Regions from separate parts of the Homo sapiens genome. Here all the other regions are linked to region 1. The links are contacts of gene promoters, found by promoter capture Hi-C in blood cells and fetal thymus (Javierre and others, 2016). All regions are on one chromosome and are shown on one strand. The core of a region is centred on a gene start or on the middle of the fragment in contact, and the rest is flanking DNA. Distances in the headings are between cores, read along the strand shown.

Region 1 (4,324 bases), core at 267-2,766:
CTGGAAGAGGAGAGGGGGCCCAGTGAGTGAGGGGCCCTTGTTAGAACCTGGGGGTGGGAAGGGGCCAAGGTGGGTGCCCTCCACCCCAGGCTGTCCCTCAGGCCTGTGCTGTGCCCCACAGTGCAGGCATCACCTGGCCCCACGAGAGAGCAGCTCATAGGTACGACTGACCACTCTGCCTGGCATGGTGGGGGCCTGCCTGTGCTGGCTCAAACCAGTTTTAGCCCCATGTTGCAGGTTAGGGAGTCAAGGCTGAGTGTCTGCTAACTTGTCTTAGGTCACTTGACCAGGGGACATTGGCCCTGGAGCTGGAAGTGAGACCGGGGAAACGGTCTCACTCCCTGGAAGACCGCCAGGGTGGGGAGTGTGACTCAGTCTCAGAGTTTGCCATGGAGTTGTCTCCCAGGCTCAGCACCCCCTCCTGGCCCTGGGGCCACTCCCTCATTTTAGGGGCCCATGTATGAAATGAGAATGTGCAGCCCCTTGCTCAAAAAGGAAGAGTTTCAGGACAGTGACGGCAGAGTGTTACTGGGCTCAGGGCCCTGAGTGACGGCAGGGGTGGCATATCTCATGGCACCAGGTGGGCCTGTGGTGCCTCCTGCCTCCAGCCCGGGGGCCTCAGCCTGGGCACTGCCCTCCACTTCCTGCCCGGGCCGAAGGGCGTGCCCCTCGCTCTCTCTGGGACTGAGACTCCATTTTAAACAGCTTTCTGGTTGGTTTCAGGTTTGCTGAGGTTTCTTCTCCCTTTCTGTCCCCCGTTTGAGGAGTTCTGATACTGATTGTTGCAGTTTGGTCTGAGATGGGCCCCGCTTCACTCTCTGTTGCCCTTTAGAAACACAAACTTCAGTCTAGACTCGCTGGTTCCTCACGACTCACTGGTCAGACGGCCACCGAGCCGGTGTCCGTAAGAGGAAAGGGCGTGGCATGGGCCGGGGCCTGGGCAGTGTTGGGTCCCGTGGCTGTGGGTGAGTCGAGCATCTAGGACAGGTCATAGGCCTCTGTGGAGGTGGCAGGTGGGCATGTGTGGCCTCGGGGAGGGCCTGTGGTGGCAGCGCCATGGCCAGGTGGTGGCAGTTTCCTTTGCATTAGCGCCACTCCATCCCTGGCCCGAGCCCTCTCCCAGGCATCTGGCTCCTCTATGGGTCAAGGCTGCCTAATGGTTAGGGGCAGCGGTGCTGTCATTGCAGCCTGGACTGCCGGCAAGCCACTTCCCCTCTGCAAGCCCCCATCAGAGGGACGAAACACCGCTTTGTGGGCTGCTGTGAATTCAGACTGTGGTCAGCCTTCGATGCACAGGTCAGACCATCACCAAAGAGATGGGACGAGACAGGCTGCTGCCTGTCTCCCTGGGCAGGGCTCCCCGCTGAGTGTTTCCTCTGCTTAGCCCTGGGCTCCCAGTCCACCCCACCCAGCCTGCCCCTTACCTCTAGCTGCTGGTCCGGGAGGAAGGGACAGGGGTCTGCGGGGCAGCAGGTGATCTCCGCCCGTGGGTGTCGGTGGTGGCAGGGGGCTCCTTGCCGCTGTGGGTGGAACGCTGGCTATTTAAGGAGAGGAAGGGAGACCACAGCCCCTCTGGCCCTGAAAGGCTGCTTCATTCCTGAGGGGTCCCTTGTTGTGTCGGGCTGCTCCTCTGGCTGCTGCTGCTGCTGCCACCGGAGCGTGAATATTCTAGTGTGTCCCTAGCCCATGCCCCCCGCCCCCAGCTTGGCCACATAGTCTGAGTGTGTGACTGTCTCAGAGACTCAGAGCAGGCGGGGGCTGGGTGGGGGGCTTGGGCTGGAGCTGAGGGACACAACAGGACGTTTCAGAAGGGGATGATTTCCTACTGATGGGGGGCAGGGAGGGGCCGGCTGTCATGGCAACAGGCGGCGCTCCCAGGCCTGCGCCCGCAGACGGCGGAGGGGGCCTGTGAACGGAGGGTGGGAGGCCGAGGAGTCTTGCTCACGGAGTGAGAGGCGACTCTTTGAGGACACTTGCTGTAGGGTCCTTGTGTCCTGCCCTGTATAATGAGGCCCCATTTGGGCACACAGAATAAATCATGGCCTTTATCTGGAGCGAGGAACAGCTGCAGGAGCCTCATAATGGGGCGCTGTCCTGTCCGTGAGGATGCGGCTCAGCTCAGAGGCCGGGTGCTCGCCGGTGCAGCTCCCCTTCTGCACGGAAGCCCATGAATCTGACCGCTGGCCTGGGGCTCCTCCCTGGGGTGGCTCCGGGCTGGGGTGCCTTTGAATGCTGCCGGCGGCCGCCTCTGAGACTGAGTGAACAAAGTTCATTTCTCTCTGTCTTTCTGAAAATGATACATCCAGCAACATGGGAAACCAAATCACCCTTCCTGGTTTCAAAAGACTTTACATTTTGTTGTTTAAACATTGAAAACTGTATGTATGTGGCTAGCATTTAAGGGGCAGTGTCTTAAATTTGTCTCTTCACATCACCCTGTGCAGCTGGGATTATTGCCCCATTTTACAGACAAGGAAACTGAGGCTCAGGCAAATGAAGAAACTCACCCATCAACAAACAGTAGGAAGCAACAGAGCCAGGATTTGAACCCAAGCACATGTCACTCCAGAACTTAGGCTCCGTGTGTGTGTGTGTTTTGTTTTTCTGCTGCATTTTGAATTTAGAATTCTTAGATTTGATCCTAATTCAACCTGAAAAAGAATTCTGAAGGCCACCTTTAGATCTGATGCTGTGATCTGGTCTGTTGAGAAGCTGTTTCCCATCTGGACTTCCTTCAAGAGAGATGGGCTTCCCAGTTTGTCTGGCCTGAGAGCCAGCTGGGTGTGAGGTGTCTGAGCCGGGGCGCAGGTCTCTTTCCTGTTGTGCCCGCAGGCGGCTGTCTGGAAGAACTGGCCCAGGCTGGTTGGAAAGGTGGTGGCTTGAAGCTAACCACCCTGAGCAGGGCATTTCTGGGCTCACAGACCTTCTGTTATTGGGGTGATCACTGTCGATGGCTTCAAGGGCATTGACCGTGGTGATGGAGTTTTGAGGCGTTGAGCTGATTCCTGCATCTTTGAGACAGAAATAATTCCTCGTGGGTTGAGTGTTGTCCTGACGCTCAGGAGGAGTCACCAGAATGTGGAGTGGGGTCATGGGGCCTACATGCTGAGTCTGGGACAGAGGCACCGCAGGGGGCATGGGCTGGCCGCCATAGGCGCCAGGTGGGGCAGCTCAGCCCCAGACCTGCTGAGGAGGTGGCCTGGGGTTGGGGCTGGGGCACAGGTGTCTGGGCAAGGGTGGGCTTCAGGGATTGTGGTGATGAAGACTGAAGCCACAGGCCACAACTGCTTCCCGTCGCTGGGGTGTAAGAGCCAGGGCTCTGGCCAGTAGTCGAGGGGAGATGATGCCCACCGAGGCTCCCTTCCTCTCTTGTAGAGTCATTCATTCACCGAGGCATTCGGTCAGCTGACCCTGAGCTGTTGCCCCCTGCTGGGCACATAGGGTCTTGGGGAGGCACAGAGAGCCAGTCGGCAGCTTAGCCAGTGACTGCTGGGCCTTTGTTTGGGCCCCTTGCCCTGCACACAGCTGATGATGAGACACCCCAGGGCAGATGGAGCACAGTGCTGTGCAGGATGGAGTCCAGACACCCAGCAGTAGCAGGTCCTGGGGTCCAGGGAGGGATGCTGAATGGGTGGCCCTGGCATCTGGGGTCTGCCCACCATAACCTGGGTGGGGATCTTGGGTCTGCGATTGGATCTCTTCCGTATCCTCCCTGACCAGCCTGTCAGAGGGGCCAACACTGGGCGTCGGGCAGCCGTGGAGGCTCGTGAGGAGTGGAGAGGGCCCCTGGGGCTGGGGGGCCTGGGAAGGGAGGCCTGGATGCAGCAGGAGCACCAGAGAGAGATTCGGGTGGCAGGTGGAGACGGGGGCCAGGGAGGTTGGATTGGGGCCTTTGTGTATCTTTGCCTGGGGACTCTGAATCTAGATTCCTGCCACCTTTGAGGTCCAAGGAAACAGAAACCATGTTGATTTGTCTCTCCGTTGAGAACACAGCTGTCGTCCAACACAGCGAGTAGCATCAGAAATTATTCTGAGGTCTTCACAAAAAGACTCTGTAGTGACAGTTCCTGGGTTTGGGGGCCTCCATCTGACATAGCAGTGCTTGTCTTTGGAGACAGAAATCGCCTGTACGTGTTTGGGCCCTTCTTCATCTGGCAAACCCCGAAGGAAGGGGGTGAGTGGGCCTCCCGGGACACTCACTGGCCACTCTGCTGGGCACAGTGACACTCATTATAACTCGTGTGTGTTAAATACATTGGGAAAATAATGCTTTCAGCAGATATCAATTAAATGTCTACTGTATTCTGCAGCATGCCCCAGGCTT
Region 2 (4,453 bases), core at 575-3,074, 140 kb after region 1:
GGGTTTCACCATGTTGGCCGGGCTGGTCTCGAACTCCTGACCTCAGGTGATCCACCACCTCGGCCTCCCAAAAGGTGTGAGCCACCTTGTCCAGCCTAGAGTTATATTTTTACAAAACAGAAGTATGTATGAGAAAATTCGCCTTTTAAAAAAGAAAAAATCTAGCTCTTCACGGTCAGTTTTCTGTAGTAATCTGAGGGCATGCTTTACAAATCTGTTTTGATGAAGGCTGGTTATATTTCCCCATTTGGGGATCCAAATAAAACCATTTCACTGATTGGCTTTCTGTGGGGGTGTTTCTATATGGGTATAGGACAAGAATTCTCCATTTAGGTGCACATAATCCTGTATTTTAAAAAAATCACAGAAAAAATTTAATGTTTTATTATTAATGGTTTTTTTTTTTTTGCACTTTCCTAATTTTTTCTCACTTTATTTTTCAGAATGAAACTAGTGATCGAGAAGATGGCCTCCCCAAAGGACATCATGTGACAGACTCTGAGAACGATGAGCCCTTAAATCTTAATGCTAGTGACTCTGAAAGTGAGGAGCTTCACAGGCAAAAGGACAGCGACTCTGAATCTGAGGAACGTGCAGAGCCTCCTGCAAGCGATTCTGAAAATGAGGATGTCAATCAGCATGGGAGCGACTCTGAGAGTGAAGAGACCAGGAAATTACCTGGTAGTGACTCTGAAAATGAGGAACTTCTTAATGGGCATGCAAGTGACTCAGAAAACGAAGATGTTGGGAAGCATCCCGCCAGTGATTCTGAGATTGAGGAGCTCCAGAAGAGTCCTGCTAGTGACTCTGAAACAGAAGATGCTCTAAAACCTCAAATCAGTGACTCTGAGAGTGAGGAACCCCCAAGGCACCAAGCCAGTGACTCCGAAAATGAGGAGCCTCCCAAACCTCGAATGAGTGATTCTGAAAGTGAGGAGCTTCCTAAACCTCAGGTCAGTGATTCAGAAAGTGAGGAACCCCCAAGGCACCAGGCCAGTGACTCTGAAAATGAGGAGCTTCCCAAACCTCGTATCAGTGACTCAGAAAGTGAGGACCCTCCGAGGCACCAGGCCAGTGACTCAGAAAATGAAGAGCTTCCCAAACCCCGAATCAGTGATTCGGAAAGTGAGGATCCCCCAAGGAACCAGGCCAGTGATTCGGAAAATGAGGAGCTACCCAAACCCCGAGTCAGTGACTCTGAGAGTGAGGGGCCTCAGAAGGGGCCTGCCAGTGACTCAGAAACTGAGGATGCGTCCAGACACAAACAGAAGCCAGAGTCAGATGATGACAGCGACAGGGAGAATAAGGGAGAGGATACAGAAATGCAGAATGACTCCTTCCATTCAGACAGCCATATGGACAGAAAAAAGTTTCACAGTTCTGATAGTGAGGAGGAAGAACACAAAAAGCAAAAAATGGACAGTGATGAAGATGAAAAAGAGGGTGAGGAGGAGAAAGTAGCGAAGAGAAAAGCTGCTGTGCTTTCTGATAGTGAAGATGAAGAGAAAGCATGTAAGGAGTTACCTTGGGCTGTTTATCAATGGCTTTATTCATTGTCTAAGCTTGTAACTGTGGAACATTGTATCCTCTTGGTATGTCAGATCTGTGTTCTGTTATTCAGCTTAATATTCTAAAATATCAGTAGGACACTCATTTCCCCTGGTTATCATTAGCTAAGCTTAATAGTAAGTTTCCTTGGAGTTCTATTAGCACATATTAATCTCTGACTGCCTCAAAGTGATAAACCACATGTCAATAGGAATATAAAATACTGTTTTTTTTTTTTAAAACTGGAAGAGGTAATGTTTCAAAGAAATACGTTTACATAAAAACCCCTAACTGTATTAATTGTTAGCTGTGGGTCTCTTTGACACTTAGTTCACTAGATCCCATCCAAACAGTAACAGCTCCCACAGGTACATCTCTTCATTTGTTAAACATTGTTGAATATTCAGATACAGGGAAGCTTTGAGAGGATTCTATTTAGAGACACCATCTCTCTCCAGAGTGTTTCAGTCTCTGCTATCTAAGACTCCATTTGCACAGATAGTATTACTTGTCTACTTTTTTATGAAACTTATCTTTTTTGGAAAAGACATATTTCATTATAACCTCACAGTTCTTATAGGAGAAGGAAAAGGTACCAGACATGCTGTCAATTTGTTAAGGGAGATGAGAAATTTCAAACTGACCAGCAATGATAGAGGAACATGGAGACTATTCCTAGAAAGAAATATGTAGTCCTTTTTAGTTCAGTTACTACTAGGCAACATAGAAAGGATGCCAGTTTTGCCCATCAATCTAGTTTTAATTTTCTCGATTTCCCAAAAGGAAAGGTGGCTGCTTTTATATTGATGATATCTTTCTTCATCTTTTGGCCAGTTTTTCTTAAGCAAAATAACAGATAATTTGTAAGATGACTCTGAATGAGCCATTTAGTTATTTTAAAAATTCTAAACCATGTGTCAGGAGGCCCTCTGATTTTATTTTATTTATTTATTTATTTATTTATTTATTTATTTATTTTTGCTGTATACTGCCATCTTAAAGCACCTGTTATGCTTAGTAATACAATGGCTGTGATAAAATAAAATTAATGATGATTTTCTTTTTCAACAGCAGCAAAGAAGAGTCGTGTTGTCTCTGATGCAGATGACTCTGACAGTGATGCTGTATCAGACAAGTCAGGCAAAAGAGAGAAGACCATAGCATCTGACAGTGAGGAAGAAGCTGGGAAAGAATTGTCTGATAAGAAAAATGAAGAGAAGGATCTGTTTGGGAGTGACAGTGAGTCAGGCAATGAAGAAGAGTAAGTGACAGTATAACATGAGTTTTCAGGGGTTCTTAATTAGGCAGTAGAGAGGGGTCTGTGTTATAATACAATATGTCCTGCCTAATTGCATGTCTTTGGGGATTTAGTATTTTAGTTCCTGAACTGAACACACTACAATGTGGGTGAATCTCAGAATTCATCTCAGAATTAACATGTTAAGTGAAAGAAAGCAAAGAGGACATATATGATTCCATTTACATGAAGTTCAGTAGGCAAAATTTATCTGTGGTGTTGGAAGTCAAGGTGGCAGTTGTTTCTAGGATGTTGATATTGGGGACCAGCTAGAAGGGGCCATGAGAGGACTTTCTGGGGAGGCTACATGAGTGTATAGGGTGCTGGTTACATGAGTGTATATATTTGTTAAAACTCATTGAACTGAACACTGAAGATCTGCACATTTTACTGTACATAAATTCTATTTTTTAAAAAATGGTTCCTATGCAAATGAGGATAAAGCAAATGAATGTTTTTACATTTGTCTACTTTCTAGAAATCTTATTGCAGACATATTTGGAGAATCTGGTGATGAAGAGGAAGAAGAATTTACAGTAAGTATAAGATGGAAATATTTCCTCCTTGATTGTGCTTTTTTTTGGTGTTTTTATGGCAGTGATACCATTATAGATGATTCTAATAAGTAGGAATAAACAATTATGATGTATTCAAGATAAAAATCTAGAAGAGGGATTCAGGAAGTAAAATGAAAGCGTATATACAAAGACATAAAAGGAAGCTAATGGGCAAAATTGAATTAAGGGGGAAGGGACACTTTGAGACAAAGAAAGTCACTTTATAATGCTAAAGGGCAAGATTCACAATAATTAGGGAACTTCCGATTTTCACAGTGGCATTCTAGGTGATTTGGACTAACCCCTCTGCCAAGCACAACTAGAAAAGCTAGACAAAAATATATAGAAATCTGCTCATTATCTAGGAACAAAGTAGCAAAGAATTACTAAGCCAAGAGAAACCTAAAGTGGTAATTCAGTGTTTAGAAGTGCTTTTTCTGTGGGGGTGTTTGCCTGTCAGGCTGAGAGGCTACTCATATTTTTGACAGCCTCAAGGCTTGGGGACAAAATTTAGAGTTCGGGGCCTATTGAGGTTAGGGGGCTTTGTAAACCCCATACCCTGGATTGAGACTTCAGAGAGCAGCACCATAAGATTTAGGGGGAAATAAAATAGCCTTTGCTCAGATTTTAGGCCATCTTTGAATCTTCTGGCAGACTAGAGAATCTCAGTCTCAGAAATAAGATTACAGTGGTTTAAGTTTTTCATATGTACTTATTATACACAAAAATAACATTAAAAGGTAACAGTAATGATGACAATAGTAATAGACTTAGGGCTCTAGATATAGGAATTTTAGATACCACCTTAAATATGTTCAGGGAGATAAGAAACAAGATTCAAAATGTCAGAGCAAACAAAAAGAAGGCAAATTTGGAAAAGAACCAAGTAGAAATTTTAGAACTATAAAAATACAGTAACTGAAATTAAAAACTCGATGTACAGGTAGGTAGGTGCAAGTAGCTGGTAGTCCCAGTTACTCGGGGGGCTGAGGCTTGGGGGTAGCTGGAGCCCAGAAGTTCGAAACCAGCCAGGGTAAAATAGTGAGGCCCT
Region 3 (4,422 bases), core at 1,574-4,073, 240 kb before region 1:
TGGAGTTTCGCTCTTGTTGCCCAGGCTGGATGGAGTGCAATGGCGCGATCTCAGCTCACCGCAAACTCTGCCTCCCAGGTTCAAGCAATTCTCCTGCCTCAGCCTCCCGAGTAGCTGGAATTACAGGTATGCACCACCACGCCCGGCTAATTTTGTATTTTTAGTAGAGACGGGGTTTCTCCATGTTGAGGCTGGTCTCGAACTCCTGACCTCAGGTGATCCTCCTGCCTCGGCCTCCCAAAGTGCTGGGATTACAGGCGTGAGCCACCGCGCCCGGCCATTACTACATATTCTTAACCAACCGAGATAAGAAATAATAAAAGTTGTACATAAGGGAGGCAGACAATTTGTTTTGGGGTATTCTGATGAGTGGTATAGCTATGTCACAGCAGATTGGGGTGACATTTGAGGATCATGCAGAAGCCTTGAACCACCCAGCGTCTCTGCAGTTCTCCTTTCCCAAGTATATTATCTGCCCGCTGCTTGCTGGTTTCCATCTTCGTTTATTCAGTTGAGCCACAAATAATTGTATGCCTATTACATACCAGGTTTCTGTATTATGTACAGGAAATGAGAAGATAAATAAGAGACAGCCTCTTCCATATTTATGGCATATACTGCCCTCATTTTAGTTTCTTCCTCCTGTTCATAATTTCATTGTTTGTTTTTGCATCAGTTCAAACTGTTGCTTGCTTATGTGAGGTGACCTCAAAGTGACTTTTTGAAAGTCCTGACCCTTTGCCTTTCAACATCATTTAAGAACAGCAATAGCATCTGGATCTTCTCAGTAAAATGCCTTTTCAACAGCTCAAAGCAAGGCTTGTTTTTGTTTTAATTTGGGAATGTTTCAAGTGAAACTTAGTTCCATCATTTAATTCCTGGCAGCCCAATAACGAGGGGGCAATAACTCCCTTATCTGTGGGCTATTTAATGACTATATAGTACCATCCTGGGAGCAATAGACTAAGGCCTTCTTCCAGATGCCATGTTTTAAGGTTTTCAGCTGGAAAGACCGTCACTCCGTAAAATTTATTTTGATTATTTTAAGTCAGGATTTGGCCTTCTTATTCAGAAACAAAAAGAAAAAAACTGGCCCCTGGCTTTCTGCCTCCTGCACTTCTGGCTCTAGGCCATATGATCATCTAATTTCTAGTTTTTCAGGCAGACAGAGAAGGTTAGAAACTGGCAACCGTGTCCTCAACAGCAGATAAGCGTATCAAGTCTGTAACAGGAATTAAGAAGACTGCTATAGAATTTTTTTTTTAAGTCACCTCCTGTTTCACAAAGCATAGCTGTCTCTTCCTTTTCGTCCTCCTTGCCCATTCTCTTGGAGAAGTCCAGGTCCAAGAGGCACCAGACACTCAATTGACTAGGGTTTTGCTGCCTATAGGTAATTATGCTAAAAGTCTAGAGTAGTAGATCTTATGCTCGCATAATTATGCATTCTAGAGCAGAAGGTTTTTGCTGGAAAGCTTCACTGTTAGATATGATTTGCATTTTTTACTAGATACTTGTCTTTGGTCTTTGAGGACAAACATATCAAGGATTCCTTTGTGCATCAACAGAAAAGCAAAACACAAAACAGCCTATATGTGAGCATGGGGCCGTATTTTAATACAAGAAAGACATTGCTCTAGAACATGGCTCGCCTTTGCTTCAGGGCCTAGCAGTTTATTTTAGCCATAAGGGTAAGGGAGCAGGTCAGAAATGACTTTTAGTGTAATCCTATCTGTAATTAAAAATACAAATGCTGTCATAAGATCAAATGTTATCAAAAATCAGTATTTAAAATTAAATTTACCCCCAAATTTCTTTCAAAAAAAATTTGTAATGTTCTTTTTCAGTGAAGCCTTTGCACTGCTAGAGCTGAAGAATGTGATCAATCGGCTTGTTGAATAATCCTGCACAGTAGGTATTCCGCTGAAGCCAACTCTAGCTGGGGGCTCGAGAGCGAAAGACACAGATGGGGCCCTGCCGCCCCTCGAAGAGTCGGATGGGCGCGCCCGTCCCCGGTGCATCAAGAGGCTGGCCCGGCCAGGGGCGAGCGGCTGGCACCGAACCCCGCGCACTTCGCCGCGGGCGGGGCTGGGCCGTAGTCGGCTCGATTTAAGGCTGGTATCCAAGGCTGCGGCCGGTCAGGCGAGGCGAGGCGAGGCGACGTGAGCGAGGGTGCTTAGGGAGAACAGCCGCTGGCAGCTCAATGCTGGGTGGCTAACGCTCGACGGTGCCTGGCAGCAACCCGGCCGACAACCCGACGCGGATCCCGAGCTGCGTCGCGGACAATGCTGCGGGCCCGTCCCGGACTACGACTCCCGACGGGCTCTGCGACCGCTCCGGGGCGGCCCAGCGTGCACTGCGCCGGCCAGTTTTGACAGCCGGGCGCCCTACTCGGCTAGCTCTGCTCCCAGCCAGGGACGCTGGCCTTCTCGCGGCTTTCCCCCGATGTCTCTCTTTATTCCAGCTGCCTGAAACTCGGTCCCACGAATGGCAGGCAGCGTCCAAAATTCAACCCCGTAAAGCCAGCACCAGCCAATAAAGCGCACGGATGGAGGCCACGTGACAGCAGTGGGCCGGCCCTCCGGCTGAGCCCTGATCTCTATGGTTTCCGCGGCTCGCTAGAAGGAGTGTGGTCCACTGGAGGACTCCCTACATTCTTCCTCCATTACCTCACTGCCTCCGGTGGCTGCTGGGATACCGGAGGACTCGGGTCCCGGCTCGACTCAGTCCTCCAGCCGCCCGGGGAATACCTCTAGTTCTTCCCGGCCGCCGCCGCCGCCGCCGCCCCGCCGCTTCCTCCTCCGCCCGCCGGCCTCCTTCGCCCCGCCCCGTCCGCGCAGCGCGTCCGGCCCGCCCGCAGGCCAGCTTCTCTCGGGAGCCCCCACCCAGGCGCATGGCTCCATGAAGCAAGAGGAGGAGGCAGAGCGCGAGAGGTCCCGTCCGCCCCAGCCGCGTCTGGGCCAGGAGAAAAGGTGGGAAACTCGGGCTGCGCCGCACCCTTCTCCCCGCTGCCGGGCCAGGCCTCCCTCGGTCCGCCGCCGCCTTGCCCGCCGGGCCTGTTCTCGCCGGGGCGGGCGGCGGGGCCGGGAAGAGACCCCGCGGTCCTGGGGCGAGGGTCCGGGGGCAGCGGGGGGGAGGAGTCCCGGGCGGCGGGCGGGGCCTCAGGCCATGTCCCAGCGGAGGGCAGGGGGTCGGGAGGCACTGCCGGGGAGGGGCGGGCGGCGCCGTGCCCCGGGCCGCGAGGCTCGGCTCCCGCTCCTGGTCCTTGTCTGCACTCCCTCCAGGAAGCAGGCTCGCTCGCTGTAAAGTTTGGTGGTCTCCGGCGCCGCCTGGTGGCCCCCACCCACCGTCCCGCCGCCCCGCCGCCCCCTCCCCCGCCCGGCGTCTGGATTCCACCCCCGCGGCTCGGCCCAAGCTGCTCTACCCGTCGCTCCATCGTCTCCCCAACTCCCCAGCGCCCCGGACCCTCTTTCCTCATACCCTCGTTTCTCACCTTTCACCCTGTCCCTCGGCCCGCTTTTCCCCTCCCCGCTCTGTCCTGTCGTTTTCTTAACACTCTTCACACGCGCACTTTCTCCTCCTCCTCTTCTCTTTTTCGCACCCCTACTCTTGGGCCCTCCTTCCTTAACCTCCGCTGGCCCCCCATTCCATGATCCGTCCACCTGACACGCTGGGTTTCATGCCTCTCTTTCCCAGGCTGTGGGTTGTGCCCTTCACTCCTTGCCCTCCTACATTCCCTGTCCTGATCTGAACTCCTCTCCTTGCCATGCTCCCTCACCCTTATCCCTCTGGGCCTTATCCTCTTTCACTGCCCTCTCCTAGGATAGAGTGGGTGGGGCCTCTCCCACCCACAGGAGATGTAAACAGTCTCCTGTTTACTTACATCTTTGGGAGTAGCTCAATTCTCTAGTAGTGGGGAGAGTTGGTGAAGAGATCAGGAAGAGATTTCTTCGAGACTAAGGATGGATGACCCTTAGCAACAGTGACCGTCTCCTCCCGGCATAGCAAGATGGCCTGCCCTCAGGTCCCTGCCTCTGGCGTGCTGTCCAGTAATTCTTCAGTTCTGTCTTTGCAGAGGATTGGGAAATTTATTTGTGTTCTGAAACCGGCGGAGAGCTTTTAAATGGTCTCTTCTGGCCTGAGAGCAACTTTTGCTCTGCATCTGTGGTGGGGAAGTTTTAATGTGCGTCTCATGCTCGAGTTCAATAAATAAAACCTTTGATTCTCAGTGTCCTCCCTTCTTGCTGATGACGCTAAGGATGAGATGATTCAGGGCATGGGACTTCACGGCTGCCTCAGATTTAGAGTTTGCAAGGTTTTGAAATAAGGAGAGCCTGTTCTCTAGCTATTTGCTGTGCCCCCCACCCCCCCGAAATTGCTCTGTCGAGTTGTGATTTTTCAGAAACCGTATCTATCTTACCTCTG

The links. The method cuts DNA at HindIII sites, captures the fragments that hold promoters and counts their contacts. A CHiCAGO score of 5 or more calls a contact.
Region 2: a fragment that was not itself captured here is called in contact with the fragment with the promoter of GPR17 in region 1 in 1 of 17 cell types (total B cells); the score reaches 6.8 in total B cells.
Region 3: a contact is called between the fragment with the promoter of AMMECR1L here and the fragment with the promoter of GPR17 in region 1, in 2 of 17 cell types (neutrophils and total CD8 T cells). The highest score is 6.2, in neutrophils.

What each region holds. Positions count from the first base shown.
Region 1 is chr2:127,643,345-127,647,668 of GRCh38, reverse strand. GPR17 (G protein-coupled receptor 17) reads right to left here and starts at 1,516. Exons shown (of 2, transcript NM_001161417.2): 1 at 1,425-1,516. The region is part of intron 4 of LIMS2 (LIM zinc finger domain containing 2); the gene reads left to right. The HindIII fragment of the contact is 22,539 bases long and covers 1-4,324 here.
Region 2 is chr2:127,501,743-127,506,195 of GRCh38, reverse strand. IWS1 (interacts with SUPT6H, CTD assembly factor 1) reads left to right here. Exons shown (of 14, transcript NM_017969.3): 3 at 444-1,512; 4 at 2,620-2,809; 5 at 3,324-3,381. Among named protein-coding and RNA genes, the nearest start is that of IWS1, 23 kb to the left of the region's middle. The HindIII fragment of the contact is 288 bases long and covers 1,681-1,968 here.
Region 3 is chr2:127,884,357-127,888,778 of GRCh38, reverse strand. AMMECR1L (AMMECR1 like) reads left to right here and starts at 2,823. Exons shown (of 8, transcript NM_001199140.2): 1 at 2,823-2,969. It overlaps LOC107985944 (a long non-coding RNA gene), which reads right to left and starts at 1,661. Exons shown (of 2, transcript XR_001739707.2): 1 at 1-1,661. It also overlaps the pseudogene LOC107985803. RefSeq lists silencers at 1,943-1,992, 2,703-2,872, 2,883-2,932 and enhancers at 2,223-2,482, 2,493-2,572, 2,357-2,952. The HindIII fragment of the contact is 4,247 bases long and covers 1,475-4,422 here.